Regions from separate parts of the Homo sapiens genome. Here regions 2, 3, 4 and 5 are each linked to region 1. The links are contacts of gene promoters, found by promoter capture Hi-C in blood cells and fetal thymus (Javierre and others, 2016). All regions are on one chromosome and are shown on one strand. Each heading gives the region's core, a stretch centred on a gene start or on the middle of the fragment in contact. The rest is flanking DNA. Distances are from core to core; before and after follow the strand shown.

Region 1 (2,702 bases), core at 134-2,633:
TGCCACCTTCTCTCCATCTCCACTGTTATCATCTCTACTTTGGATGGCATCCGGATATCTCCAAACTTAAATATACCCTCCACACATTTTTCTTTCTAAAAGGCAACGTGATTCAGTCAGTTCCCTGATCAAAAGTCCTCCAATGATTTTTATGTTTTCCATCATTTTCAAGTTAAAATCCAAACACAGCAATGACATACTTGACCTTTCCCAATATCTTCCCTGCCTCATCTACTTTTCCACAAGCAAATCTTCTGGTTCCCTTAATATACCATGTTTTGTTTCGTTTCTGTTGGATTTGCACCATTGGTCTTTCTTATTCCTGAAATTACTTTGCCCAGGCCTTTACTCCCTCTTCCAACTAGTGAAGTCTTATTCTTCTTTCAAGACTGATCAAACATGTTACTTAAGATGCTTTTCCTTCTGCCATCAGTCCCTTTCTTCAGCATAATTATATGCATCTATATATAATTAGCACATCCTACTCTACCACATCCGTCTCTACCACATCTCCTTAAGAACAGAAACCGTTATCTTGATCATTTCTGTGTCCCAACAACTGGTACCTAAGTGACTTATTTTACCATTAATATTATTTTGTTCATTACTATGAGGATGTGTCTCTCCTCTTATACCCTTTTGCCCTCACTGGTCTCTTTTCCTCACTCTTGTCTATAGAAAAGGGTGCTTAATATATACTGAAAAGATGAATAGATCTGAACAACCATAGACACGGGGTATTCAAGTAGAACTTGGATTTGACCCCATGCCTTCCTGGCTCCAAAGCCTGTGTCCTCTCCACTACAATACATTGCCATACAAAAAACAAAACTACTTGTTGAATTTATGGACCAAGGGTATACAGTCTTAAGGAGCAGAGGAGTTAAATGCTTTGTTTCCAATGAGACACTAAATTAACTGACTTTCTAACTGCATATGAACCTTGACGACAAGTCGGGGGTCGGGGAAGCGCCACAGCTTCACTCCCGGGGCCCTCTACTAGGGGAGGCTTTTCTCCTCCACCTGCACCAGGCGAGAAATACCCCCAGAGCAGGGATGAGAATGAGGGAAATCAAGCTCGCAAGAACATCCACAGCGCTACGCGGACGCCTGCCTCAGAGGGCGACAGGACACCAACGGGCCCCTAGCCGCGTAATGGCCGCTCCAACCGCTGTCTCACATTTTCATGGTGCCTTTAGGACCCAAGTTGGTCCGCAGCACATCCTGCAGCCCTCGGGCGGCGCATATATTGACAGCCAAAGCTGCCCGGGCCCGCGCCACCTCAGCCTTGGAGTTGACGGCCTTTATCGCAGCCATAGCCTAACCGTTCAGAGGGAGAAAAAAAAAAAGCCTTAGTCGCGATTCTGAGCAAAAACGGCAATGCGACGCCACGCTCTCTTGAGCCTCGGCCAATCATCGCCCTTACAGGAAGTGACGTTATCATGCCTCGCCCGACGGAAACCAGAATCGTTTTGGGTCTGGTCGCCAAGATGGCGTCCTCCGCCTCCGCCCGGACTCCGGCAGGGAAGCGAGTGATAAATCAGGAAGAATTGCGGCGGTTAATGAAGGAGAAGCAGCGTCTGAGCACCAGTCGGAAACGGATAGAATCTCCATTCGCGAAGTACAACCGTTTGGGGCAGCTGAGTTGTGCCCTGTGTAACACTCCGGTTAAGAGCGAGCTCCTGTGGCAGACTCACGTCCTGGGAAAGCAGCACCGAGAGAAAGTGGCCGAGCTGAAAGGCGCGAAGGAAGCCAGCCAGGGTTCGTCCGCCAGTTCAGCGCCTCATTCCGTCAAGAGGAAAGCGCCGGACGCAGACGACCAAGATGTCAAGAGAGCGAAGGCCACCTTGGTGCCTCAGGTACAGCCCTCCACATCTGCGTGGACCACCAACTTTGACAAAATAGGAAAGGAGTTCATTAGAGCGACTCCCAGTAAGCCTTCAGGACTCAGTTTACTCCCCGATTATGAAGATGAGGAGGAGGAGGAAGAGGAGGAGGAAGGAGATGGAGAAAGAAAAAGGGGGGACGCCAGCAAGCCGCTCTCCGACGCACAGGGCAAGGAGCACTCAGTTTCCTCTTCACGGGAGGTAACAAGTAGTGTGCTGCCAAACGATTTCTTTAGTACTAATCCTCCCAAGGCCCCCATAATTCCTCATTCAGGGTCAATTGAGAAAGCAGAAATACATGAAAAAGTGGTGGAAAGGAGAGAAAACACCGCGGAAGCGTTACCGGAAGGTTTTTTTGACGACCCTGAGGTAGATGCAAGAGTACGAAAGGTTGATGCTCCAAAAGATCAGATGGACAAAGAGTGGGACGAATTCCAAAAAGCCATGAGGCAGGTCAACACTATTTCCGAAGCCATAGTTGCCGAAGAGGATGAGGAGGGACGGTTGGACCGCCAGATTGGGGAGATCGATGAGCAGATAGAGTGTTACCGACGGGTGGAAAAGCTACGGAATCGCCAGGATGAAATAAAAAATAAACTTAAAGAAATCCTGACCATAAAAGAACTGCAGAAAAAGGAAGAAGAGAATGCTGACAGCGATGATGAGGGGGAACTACAGGATTTGTTGTCTCAGGATTGGAGGGTGAAAGGGGCATTGTTATAGGGTTTTAAAGACCCAAGGTTTCTAACAGCCTCTGCTGTTGTATAAAAAGTGCTGTCTCTCAGTAGTATAGCGGTTACTTCATGCCTCAAGATT
Region 2 (2,720 bases), core at 206-2,705, 580 kb after region 1:
TTTTGCCTTTCTCCATTTCCGAAGCTTCCATGATAATATTATATTACCCTTCTTTTTAAAAGTAAGTTTTAGAAGCTTCTCACAGTTTCTAAAGCTTCTCTTTTATCTTAGTTATTTCATTTAGTTAATTGCTTTATCCATCATATTAAGACTTTGTAGAAAACATTGAGAATTCTAAAACAACCAAGTTAGTCCATTATTCTTAGTCCCCACCAGTTCCTAATCTTACATTTGAATCTAATGAACTATCATCATAGATCCTTAATTTGACCTGTTGCCTAAAAACAATTGAGTTGCCTTTATTGTTCCCTTATTCTTCATTATTACAGTGTTAAAGATTATTCTCCACACTGACTTCTTTGAAATCTCTAACATTAGAAATTCATACTATCGAATTGAATCATTGTAGATTCTAGTTTTCTAAAAGCTACAAGTACAATTCAGCAAATATTTACTGAGCACCTGCCCTGTGTGAGGCACTGTACTAGTTGCTCTAGGGGAAATAAGGATGTGTAAGTGACTCATCCTCTTACTCTCAAGGAGCTCACAGTCTTAATAGGAAGAGAAATGTGCACACATTTTTTGAGGACAGAAAGAACAGACTAGGAGAAGGGTTCAATGGTTCTCAACCCTTGTGACATATTAGAATCATTTGGATTTTTTTTAAGAGATAGAGTCTTGCTCTGTAACCCAGGCTGGAGTGCAGTGGAGTAATCATAGGTCACTGTAGCCTCAAACTCCTGGGCTCAAGTGATCCTCCCACCTTGGCCTCTGGAGTAGCTAGGATTAAAAGCATGCACCACCATGCCCAACTAAGTTTTTAAAAAAATTTTTTTTGTAGAGATGGGGTCTTGTTATGTTGCCCAGGCTGGTCTCCAACTCCTGGCTTCAAGTGATTCCCCCAGACCTCAGCCTCTCAAAGTTCTGGTATTACAGGCACCAGCCACTGCACCCTGCCTGGACAACATTTAATAAATACCGATGCCCGAGCCTGTGTTCAGACACACTGAGGTTAATTAGTCTGGTGTCTGGCCTGATCACTGATTTTTTTTAAGTCGCCCAGGAAATTATAATGAGCATCCAGGGTTGAGAATCACTGAGTTAGTTATTCTACTTTCATCCTGATTGAATTGTTTCACTAGACTAAGAACTGACAAAGACTCTCAAATTCAATATTTAAAACAATTCTTTACAAATCAATTCTTTTATTAAAAATTATATGATGCATGCATATATTTTAAAAAGTCAAATGGTACTAAGGCTTATGACTAAAATATAGCAATTCCTTGTCCCACTCATACTCCTTCATACTCTGTTGACTTTGACTGTTTAAATTATTTTTATAGAATTCATACATCTCCCTACATCAGAATGTCAATGCACTGGCATCTTTTGCAAAACCGATTGCTGAACTTCATTTCCTCCTATCCAAAACTACCCTAAAGCCCCCAAGGAAAGGTAAAAAGGAAGAAACACCAGGTAATTAGAGCAGTAGGAAGCAAGGGAGAGGTTTTTCTTTTCAACCCGTGCCTAGGTACAGACTAGCCCTTCTAATGGGCCTAAGCAATTCAGAAAGGCAGCTAAGAGAGCTTCTCGAAACCCTGCCTGCTCTTCCACCTCTTGGAAGGCTGAGGGGCTTTATCTAAAATCATAACCAAAATTTCCACATGTCTCCTGGATTCAAGCCTCCCCAGAGTCAATCAAGTTATCCTAAACTTTTCTAGAAGTTAAAAACAGTTTGGAAATATGAATACTTCCAAAGCAATTTAAAAATCCTTGCAAAAGCAAGAGTAATTTGAAGAGTACAGAATTGGCTCAGCCATTTGGGGAACTGACTAGAAAAGGGGAACTTTGATTTCATTTCTAATATGTATCATATACATTGGAAAGTTTCACTTAGGGAGATAATAAAAGTTTAATTGAGGTAGTAGGCATTTGAAAAAGGATGTGATTGCCAAGTAAGGATTTCAAAGGTGGAGGGGACAGAAAAGGGTTTAAAGACTGAGAAAATGGCACAGGCACAGACCAGGAGTCGGGGATGTGTGTGGGTGGTGTTGGTGGTAAAGTTGCCACCAAGGATCCCCATAAACTCTGAGAGTTGGATTTAAAAATTAGCACCAAGTCATAATGGAAGAAATCAGAGATGTGCAAAGGCCCCTTGTAGGAAGACTACTTTCCAGGCCAGCGGCAGAGTATAAGGCATTTCTAGCCTACATGAATGTATTCACATACATAGAGGATAAATGTAGGCAAAATTTGTATATGTTGGGGGCAGTAAGGAGAGGGTTGGTGGTGAACCTGGAAATTTTAGAAACCAAGACAGAGAAAAAAAAATTCATCTGAGGGCAAAGAATAATGAAAAACTAGTCATCCTTAGCATTCTAAATTTGCTTTAGCTTGTAAACTGTAAACTAATTTGTCTAGTCCTTGTGATAGAAATATCTTTATTTTAGAAATTATTGCAATCTTATTTTATATTAAGTTGGTGCAAAAGTAATTGTGGCTTTTGCACTTTTGCACCAACCTAATAGATATTGCAATAGTCTAATATAATCTGAAGATTTTTAAGATTTGAATCAAATTACCAGCTTCCCTTACTGTAAGGCTATGTTCATATAATTTGGCTTCCTATATTACTGTTGAGGGCACTGATTAGCAAAAGCATTTGACCCACTTATGACTATGGTCCTCACTATAAATTAACAGAGTAACATTTTGAT
Region 3 (2,701 bases), core at 134-2,633, 530 kb before region 1:
GCTCATTCGCTCTCTCTCTCTCTCTCCCACCCTTCCCATGCCCCCCACCCCCCACCCCTCACCATGTGAGCTCACAGGTAGAAGACTGCCGTCTGCAAGCCAGGAACCAAATCAGCCAGGAACTTGACCTTGGTTCCCCAGCCTCTGGAACTGTGAGACATGAATTTCTAAGGTTTAAACCACTCAGTCTTTGGCACTTAGTGACAACAGTCTGAGCAGTTTAAGACAAAGACACATGCAGCCCCACAGGGAATGTTACACCTAGGTGGCAGCATATCTGCCTACTTTCTAATGTTCCCAGGAGAGTCCAGAATTTGACCTGTCACTTTACAACTCCTCTTCCTTTGTGGTGGAAGGAGGGAAAGGAAAAGTGGAGAGTGAGAAGCAAGGTTGCAGTTCTTTCCCCAGCAAAACTCTCTCAACAGAAAGAAGGAAATAGGGGGCTGGGCGCGGTGGCTCACGCCTGTAATCTCAGCACTTTGGGAGACCAAGGTGGGAAGATCACAAGGTCAGGAGATGGAGACCATCCTGGCTAACACGGTGAAACCCTGTCTCTACTAAAAATACAAAAAATTAGCCAGGCATGGTGGCGGGCACCTGTAGTCCCAGCTACTCGGGAGGCTGAGGCAGGAGAATGGCGTGAACCCAGGAGGCGGAGCTGGCAGTAAGCTGAGATCGCACCACTGCACTCTAGCCTGGGCTCCCATCGTATGTAACATAGCAGTGTTACTAATGTTACTAGGTCATATCCCTAACTACTATTGTTACTAGTGTTACTAGGTCATAGCCCCTACCCTGCCCAGGAGCACATGCAGCCTCTGCACCCAGGCTTCTGACCTTGCACCGTCCACCAGTAATGTAGGAAGGCCATAGCGGATGGGAGCCCCTGCACTCCTCACTCTCCATTAACACTCTTTCATGGATCCCTTTAGCATCCACCATGACTGATCTCTCTAACACATCCTCCTTACCTTGCTTTTTGAACTTGGCTCTCATCATTGACCTTCCCAGCCCTAGACATTTGGCAGCCTCTTGCCCATGATTTTGCTTTTCCCGTATCTGAGCTGTCTCAGGATACCTTGGGAATTCATCATCTTTCTCTTCCATCCTTCTACCCTTCCACTCTTTCACCAGCCATGCACTGAATATTTGTGCCCATCCGCCAACTCACCCCCTTCAACTTATGTTGAAGCCCTAATCCCTGTGTGATGGTATTTGGAGGTGGGGCCTTTGGGAGGTAATTAGGTCATGAGGGTGGAGCCCTCATGAATGGGATTAGTGCCTTGATAGGAAGAGGCCAAAGAGCTCACTCTCCTTCCACCATGTGAGGACACAGCAAGACGATGGCTGTCTATAAACAAGGATAAGGCGCTCATCAAGAACCCAGCCCTGCGGCACTCTAGCTAGGACTTCCAATCTCCAAACTGTGAAAAATAAATGTTTGGGGTTTTTTTTTTGTTTATTTGTTTGTTTATTTGTTTTTGAGACAGAGTCTCACTCTTTTTTGCCCAGGCTGGAGTGCAGTGGCATGGTCTCGGCCCACTGCAACCTCTGCCTCCTGGGTTCAAGCAATTCTGCTGCCTCAGCCTCCCAAGTAGAGTAGCTGGGATTACAGGCACCCACCACCACGCCGAGCTAATTTTGTATTTTTTTTAGTAGAGACGGGATTTTGCCATGTTGGTCAGACTGGTCTTAAGCTCCTGACCTCAGGTGATCTGGCCCGCCTTGGCATCCCAAAGTGCTGGGATTACAGGCAGGAGCCACCACACCCGGCCAAATGTTTGGTGTTTAAGCCACCCAGGATACAGAAGTTTGTTATGGCAGCCTGAGCTAAGACACCCCCCTCCTCTTCACACCCACCTCCCCTTCACACTCATCACCTAATTTGAGCCTATGGGGTTGTGTATGGAGTCTTTATAGGACTGAACATGCTTCAAACCAAGTCATCATACAGACACAGAAAAGCAAAAAGATATGATCTTGTAAAAGAAATGTCTCCTTCTCCCAAATTACCAGGTATGTGGAATATAATATATGTTACCTTATGAACATTTTTTAAAGATTATTAAATTTAAACACAGATTGAGGTATTTGAATTTCAAAGACTATCTGTACAAAGCAAACAAAAAAAAAAAGTCCCAAGATTGGGAAAGGAGTTGATATAAATGATAACTGACAAAGTACAGCCCCGTGGTTCTCAGACTAGAGGATTCTGTAGTTCAGCAATTTTTTTTTTTTGTAACAGCAAAAAAGGAGGTTGACAGATACATCATTGGTATGAATGGAGAAGGAAGAAAATAAAAGTCATAAGTGTGAATGAGATGACAGTTAACAAGCTAAGGAGTTTGTTGTGGTTTATGTATATACTTTTAAGTTCTGGGATACATGTGCAGAACATGCAGGTTTGTTACTATACATTGATGGGTGCAGCAAAATCTTTAAAGAGAAAATTGGAGGATTCACATAGCATTACCAGCTTTATGCAGTTCTAAGTGTAGATACCCGAGAAATCATCTCAAGTCTATAATCACTATCTTTTCACGGGTGACAGGATATTTTCAAACCAAGAAAGCAGGAAAGATATAACTCCAGGGAAAGGACAATCCTGTTGATAATGAATAAATTTAACTTTATGAAAGACTCACTCATGTTTTTCTCATTTCTCCACAAGCTGATGAAAACTTTGGCACGAAGCACTGGA
Region 4 (2,700 bases), core at 197-2,696, 550 kb before region 1:
AGTAGAGATGAGTTTGAGGCTCCAGGACAGAGCCTGTATAATCAGGAGAGTGAGGTTCCTTCCTGACTAGGCTCCAGGAGGAATAGATCCACACATGTGCAAGGATCCCAGTGTGACCGGGAGGAGAAACGAAAGACAGGGTTGGGAAGAGAATGGGGATGGTGGAAGCACCAGAGGATCCCCAGCCTCACTGAGCTTGGACGCTGCACACTTTCTGCAGCAGCAGTTCATGCGGCTGTGTGATCTTCCTTTGAGAGTGCTGAGCAGCCCAGGTGTGACTGAGGCGGTGCTGGACATTTGGATAGATTCTGATCTGGGGCTTTGCTAGGAGAGCAAAACCAAAGGACAGTGAGCCAAGGGAATTGAAAATACTGGCACTGAAGTGGTGGAAAGCATGTTCTGTGAGCTCCAGACTGACTGAAGGAGCTGTGAATCTTCTATTGTCATCCTCTGCCCAACCCATCACCCTCCCACCAACATATTTACCACGGGACTTTTAGAGTACAGTCAAGATTCCCTTTTGGTTTTCTCTCTCTCTGGATATCGAAACCAATTTCCTGGGATGGGGGTGGGGGAAGGCTGGAGAAAAATGACATTACAGAGAAGGATCAGCCTTGGGACATTCCCCAGGCCAGACTCATTTGAAGAAAACTTGAGTTTTTCCCTTGTCTAAAGCTCTGAGGTCTTTGGGGAGCTTTCCAGCTCTGGTCTAATTGTAATCCCTAAGTACATATGCTATGTTCCAAAGTCAATATATAGAGTTAGTGCAATACCAATGTAAATTCTTCTGAGTCCTTTAATAGAATTTGACAGCTCTGAGTGTAGGATGCTTATTCTTCCAGGTAAAGAACCATCAAAGCATTTGTCTTTTAATGGCAGTGATAGCTGATCCCTCCTGAGTGATTAAGATGTGAATTGTCAATCACTGAAACCATCCTGTACTGAGTTAAAAACCACAAAGGTCACCAGAAGAGAGATTCCTGAGATGGATTTGAATTCTGGCAAAACCAACGTTAGGCCAGCCAAGGAGCATATTGGAGAAAGAGATTGGTATTTAATAAGCATCGCGGGGACAGTTGGCTAACAGGCCAGGGGAGAGTTAATTTAAATTCATACAGCATACCTGTCAAGTTCAGCTATATCGTACTGCTAATCTGTGACAAACCTGGAGACAAGGAACTGGCATTGTTACCCCTGCTGCTGATAAGGAGATAAATTCCTGGCTATTGAAGAAAAAGATACCATCAGGGCTCTGATAGATGGGTTCAAATATGTGAGAATAAAAATGTTTGCATTGCAATGTAATAAAAATAAATACCAAAAGGAAAGCTACGGCATCCGTTACGTCTGTCTCATTCTCCCTCCCAGGCCTGCTTACTGCCCAAAACAGATAATGGATAGGCCGTTATGTGATTCTTCCTGATAAGTGGTCAAAGGAGATGAACAAAATTAAACCAGGAAATGGAGATAGTAAATCACCACGTGGAAATAGGCGCGGTCTTGCCAGCTATAAAATACAATTTAGATCCAGGCAACTTTCAGGTCCTGTTACATGCCTACTAAAGCCACAAAAATAAGTATGATAAAACCCAGGATAGGCAGCCAGTGGAAACACATCCTTCAGCATTGCCTTTTAGAAAGACTGGACAAATTTCCATAAGCAATCAGGCAACATGAATGAGAGCCACACTGCTGTTGAGAGGCTCTGACCCGGTAATTCCTTCTTTGGTTAAAAAAAAATCCTACAGTGTTAGCTCCAAAGAAAGAAAAACACATCTATAGCAGCATTATTTCTATAATAACTATAAATTGCCAACAACACAAAGGCCAAACAAGAAGGGGCTGACCAGGCAAAGGGAAATGTGTTAACACAATAGAATAACACTGTGCTACTATACATGACTAATACGGGGGGCGTGGTAGGTTCTGGAAACAGTTTTATGAAATATGCATAGTCATCATTAGTGTGCATATCCAAGGCCTTCCTGGATATTGATAAAGAAGAGACTTTGGATGGGGCTTAATTCACTTAATGTTCATTAAGGTTTCATGATAGGCTGGATGCTAATTTTAGTCATTCATTCAACATTCATTGAGTGTTGACCACACACCAGATGCTAAGGATATTAAGATGAGAAAGAAATGCTTCCTACTGCGGAGGGCTCTGTTGTCAAATGAGAAGATAGACAGACAGACAGACACACACACACATACGCAAAATGATCAAGTGTGGGAAGAGGTATAGATAGGGTGTCATATAGAAAGGGGAGGGGGCCTAGACGTCACTACAGATCTTCATATGCAGGATTAGGATAAGTCACAGGTGGGGCAAACATGGAGGAGAACATTGTTCTAGGGAGAGGGAATGGCATTGCACAGGCTGTGACCGTATAGATCTGGGGTGTGTTTGTGTGTGTGTGTGCGTATGTGTGTGTGTGTGTGTGTGTGTGTGTTCTCCATCCCAATAGATCTGCAGTCTATAGCCTAGGATACTTCTTTCATGGGACCCAGAACCCAGTGGCTGCCTTCCCAGAACCAACTCACCCCTGACATTTCCCTTCACTACCACCCTCCCACAAACCGCTCCTCCCCCGTTCCTCTGCCACGCGCAGCCTCACTTCCTTGCTGAAATCATGCAAGGCCGTTTGCCCTGGGTAAAAATGCTCATGTTGTGCCGTATGCTGTGTGAATAGAATTATT
Region 5 (2,700 bases), core at 150-2,649, 630 kb after region 1:
TCTCGATCTCCTGAGCTCAAGCCATCCGCACGCCTCGTCCTCCCAAAGTGTTGGGATTACAGGCGTGAGCCACCGTGCCTGGCCAAAAAAAATTTAATATGTGTATGTATAAGAGGCTTTTCAGAGAAATTGGGTGACAAATTCTAAGGAGGTTTTGTTTTAAAATCTTAAACAAGTTTTAAAGGACATAGCATAGCATAGTAAATATCCTAGACAGATTGTAATGGATTTGAGCTATAGTCCTTCTTTGAGGCTCAAGTAATCGTTTCTGTTTACTGGTTTTTCTGTTTGTATATATACATTCATAAATAACTTCAGATTTATTCCAGGTCTTTTATGTGAAGAATTCCTTTCTTCATTTGCCCACTTCACATTTAGTTTACATTATGAATGGACTAAATGATTATAACATTCTTTGAATTTTTGCTAGAAACACATTGTAAAAACATTGCATAAGGCAAGCTTCAGTATAATTTTTAATTATAACAAGTATTAAAGGAGAAATTTCTATATTCTGTAATGATATTTGTGAGTCCTAGCTCACTTCTTTTAACAAGATCATTCTGTGAATTTCTGGTACAATCTAAAGAGCTATTAGGATCAAGACTATAAATAGTAATTAGCTGGTTGGAAAGATAGCAAATGAGTCTAATTTCCATTAAACTGTACAAGTAGCACGTTTTAGAGATCAGATTTGAACCAGAAGTTTTTCATTATTTTATGTTTATCTGGCTCTTTTTTCTTTTCTTTAATTACATTGATTTGTTTGGTGCTTAGGTCTTTTCTCCTAGATCCATATTTACTATTGTTTGCCAAATACATTATGTCATATTGACCTGATAATAATGAGCAGGTGCCAGCATGTCTTGTCCTGAAGTTGGTGATAAGTATTATTAGTGATGGTGATAAGGAAAAAGATACTCATTTTGAGTACAGAAGGAATATTATTAAAAAATATATGTATATTTATATATTTTTTTCCCCTTGAGACAAGGTCTCTGTCGCTGAGGCTGGAGTGCAGTGGTGAGATCATAGCTCCCTGTAGCCTTGATCTCCTAAGCTCAAGCGATCCACACACCTCAGCCTCCCAAGTAGCTGAGACTACAGGTACATGCCACCATGCCTGAGCCACCGCGCCTGGCCCAAATTCCTATTTATTTATTTATTTATTTGAGATGGACTTTTGCTCTGTTGCCCAGGCTGGAGTGCAGTGGCGTGATCTCGGCTTACTGCAGCTTCCGCCTCCCAGGTCCAAGCGATTCTCCTGCCTCAGCCTCCCAAGTAGCTGGGATTAAAGGCACGTGCCACCATGCCCAGCTAAATTTTGTATTTTTAGCAGAGACAGGATTTCACCATGTTGGCGAGGCTGGTCTTGAACTCCTGACCTCAAGTGATCCACCCGGCAGCCTCACAAAGTGCTGGGATTACAGGCGTGAGCTACTGTGCCTGGCCCCAAAATTTTAATATATTTAAAGAAGTCTGGTACATTGGACAAAGTCTTATAGTTTCTCAAATCAGAAAAAGTAGTCTTATTATTTAGTAAAAATGTGACCAGACTGTGCCGTTTTTGTTAGTAGAGCCATTTGTCATCTGGATTACTTCTTCTGGAAATTGGGATGGAAGAGTTAAGGTTGAGGTTGAGATCCACGTTCTTTTGTTTCAACACCAGTTTGATTCTCGTGTCTGAACGGATGTCTCAGTCTTTTGCCTTGTTTTTAACTATAAACTGGCATTATTTGGGAATACTCTTGGGCTAAATCTGGATTGTTGGAAGTAAGAAAGCCACATTTTTTTTTAAATCCAAAAATATAGTTAGATACAATGAATAAGATCTAGTATTTGATAGCACAAAAGGGTGACTGCGGTCAACAATAATTTACTGTACATTTAAAAATAACTAAAAGAATGTAATTGAATTGTTTATAATACAAAGAAAGGATAAATGCTTGAGGTGATGGATATCCCATTTACACTAATGTAATTATTATGCATTGTCTGCCTGTTATCAAAATATCTCATGTACCTATACGCACCTACTAAATACCCACAAAACTAAAAATTAAAAAAATTCCATGCATAAGTCATGGTTGCCTCTCTAGATGTTTGTTGTGAAAGAATATTGTCCTACTAATTTTGAATTTTTTTTTTCTGAAAGAGATTCTTTTTATTGAAAGTTTCATGTCATAGATCGGCAAAATTGTTTTTTCTTTTGACCTTACACTGCTTCAGAATATATGTTTTGGAGTGATTCCAGCTTGAGGCAAGGAAGTTACCAGATTTTCCTGAATGGAAAGTAATTGCAGATATATTTATAAAAAGGTCCAGCTTTAGCTCTTGAAAGCTTTGAGGAGTTACTGTGGATAAAATCACAAAGCCATAATAGGTTCATACTTTTACCCAGTTGCATTTGGCCTTTAGATTTTTGCCCCATTAGCTTGAGGAGTTACATTCTTAGTTTTTCTTGAACCATCAACGGTGGTGATAAAGGAAGATGATACTCATTTTTAGAAATTCTTAAATATAAGTGTTCCTAAAATTAATTGGATGTTCTTAAAATTAATTGGATGCCTTGTTGGATATCTATAACCTGAATGAAGGAATTCTTTTCTCTTGCTATAGGTGCACATTAAAGATCCAAAGTCATGACTGACTCCAAGTATTTCACAACCAATAAAAAAGGTAAGTATGAGAATACAATCA

The links. Contacts are between HindIII fragments. The CHiCAGO score rates a contact against its expected background, and 5 or more counts as called.
Region 2: a fragment that was not itself captured here is called in contact with the fragment with the promoter of CCT6B in region 1 in 2 of 17 cell types (neutrophils and fetal thymus); the score reaches 8.0 in neutrophils.
Region 3: a contact is called between a fragment that was not itself captured here and the fragment with the promoter of CCT6B in region 1, in 4 of 17 cell types (M0 macrophages, endothelial precursors, M2 macrophages and 1 more). The highest score is 7.5, in M0 macrophages.
Region 4: a contact is called between a fragment that was not itself captured here and the fragment with the promoter of CCT6B in region 1, in 2 of 17 cell types (megakaryocytes and erythroblasts). The highest score is 6.3, in megakaryocytes.
Region 5: a fragment that was not itself captured here is called in contact with the fragment with the promoter of CCT6B in region 1 in 2 of 17 cell types (neutrophils and fetal thymus); the score reaches 5.8 in neutrophils.

Annotation. Positions count from the first base shown.
Region 1 is chr17:34,960,077-34,962,778 of GRCh38, forward strand. It overlaps CCT6B (chaperonin containing TCP1 subunit 6B), which reads right to left and starts at 1,384. Exons shown (of 14, transcript NM_006584.4): 1 at 1,181-1,384. The coding sequence starts at 1,317. It overlaps ZNF830 (zinc finger protein 830), which reads left to right and starts at 1,464. Exons shown (of 1, transcript NM_052857.4): 1 at 1,464-2,702. The coding sequence starts at 1,491. The coding sequence ends at 2,609. RefSeq lists a silencer at 914-1,208 and enhancers at 928-977, 1,078-1,297, 1,348-1,427, 1,508-1,757. The HindIII fragment of the contact is 8,368 bases long and covers 1-2,702 here.
Region 2 is chr17:35,544,846-35,547,565 of GRCh38, forward strand. It overlaps SLFN14 (schlafen family member 14), which reads right to left. Exons shown (of 6, transcript NM_001129820.2): 6 at 1-2,720. Among named protein-coding and RNA genes, the nearest start is that of SLFN12L, 8.5 kb to the left of the region's middle. The HindIII fragment of the contact is 2,726 bases long and covers 93-2,720 here.
Region 3 is chr17:34,430,959-34,433,659 of GRCh38, forward strand. No RefSeq gene overlaps it. Among named protein-coding and RNA genes, the nearest start is that of CCL1, 69 kb to the left of the region's middle. The HindIII fragment of the contact is 3,958 bases long and covers 1-2,701 here.
Region 4 is chr17:34,411,293-34,413,992 of GRCh38, forward strand. It overlaps LOC124903986 (a long non-coding RNA gene), which reads left to right. Exons shown (of 2, transcript XR_007065722.1): 2 at 843-1,328. Among named protein-coding and RNA genes, the nearest start is that of CCL1, 49 kb to the left of the region's middle. The HindIII fragment of the contact is 3,355 bases long and covers 1-2,700 here.
Region 5 is chr17:35,591,389-35,594,088 of GRCh38, forward strand. AP2B1 (adaptor related protein complex 2 subunit beta 1) reads left to right here. Exons shown (of 22, transcript NM_001030006.2): 2 at 2,620-2,679. The coding sequence starts at 2,643. Among named protein-coding and RNA genes, the nearest start is that of AP2B1, 5.4 kb to the left of the region's middle. The HindIII fragment of the contact is 1,879 bases long and covers 461-2,339 here.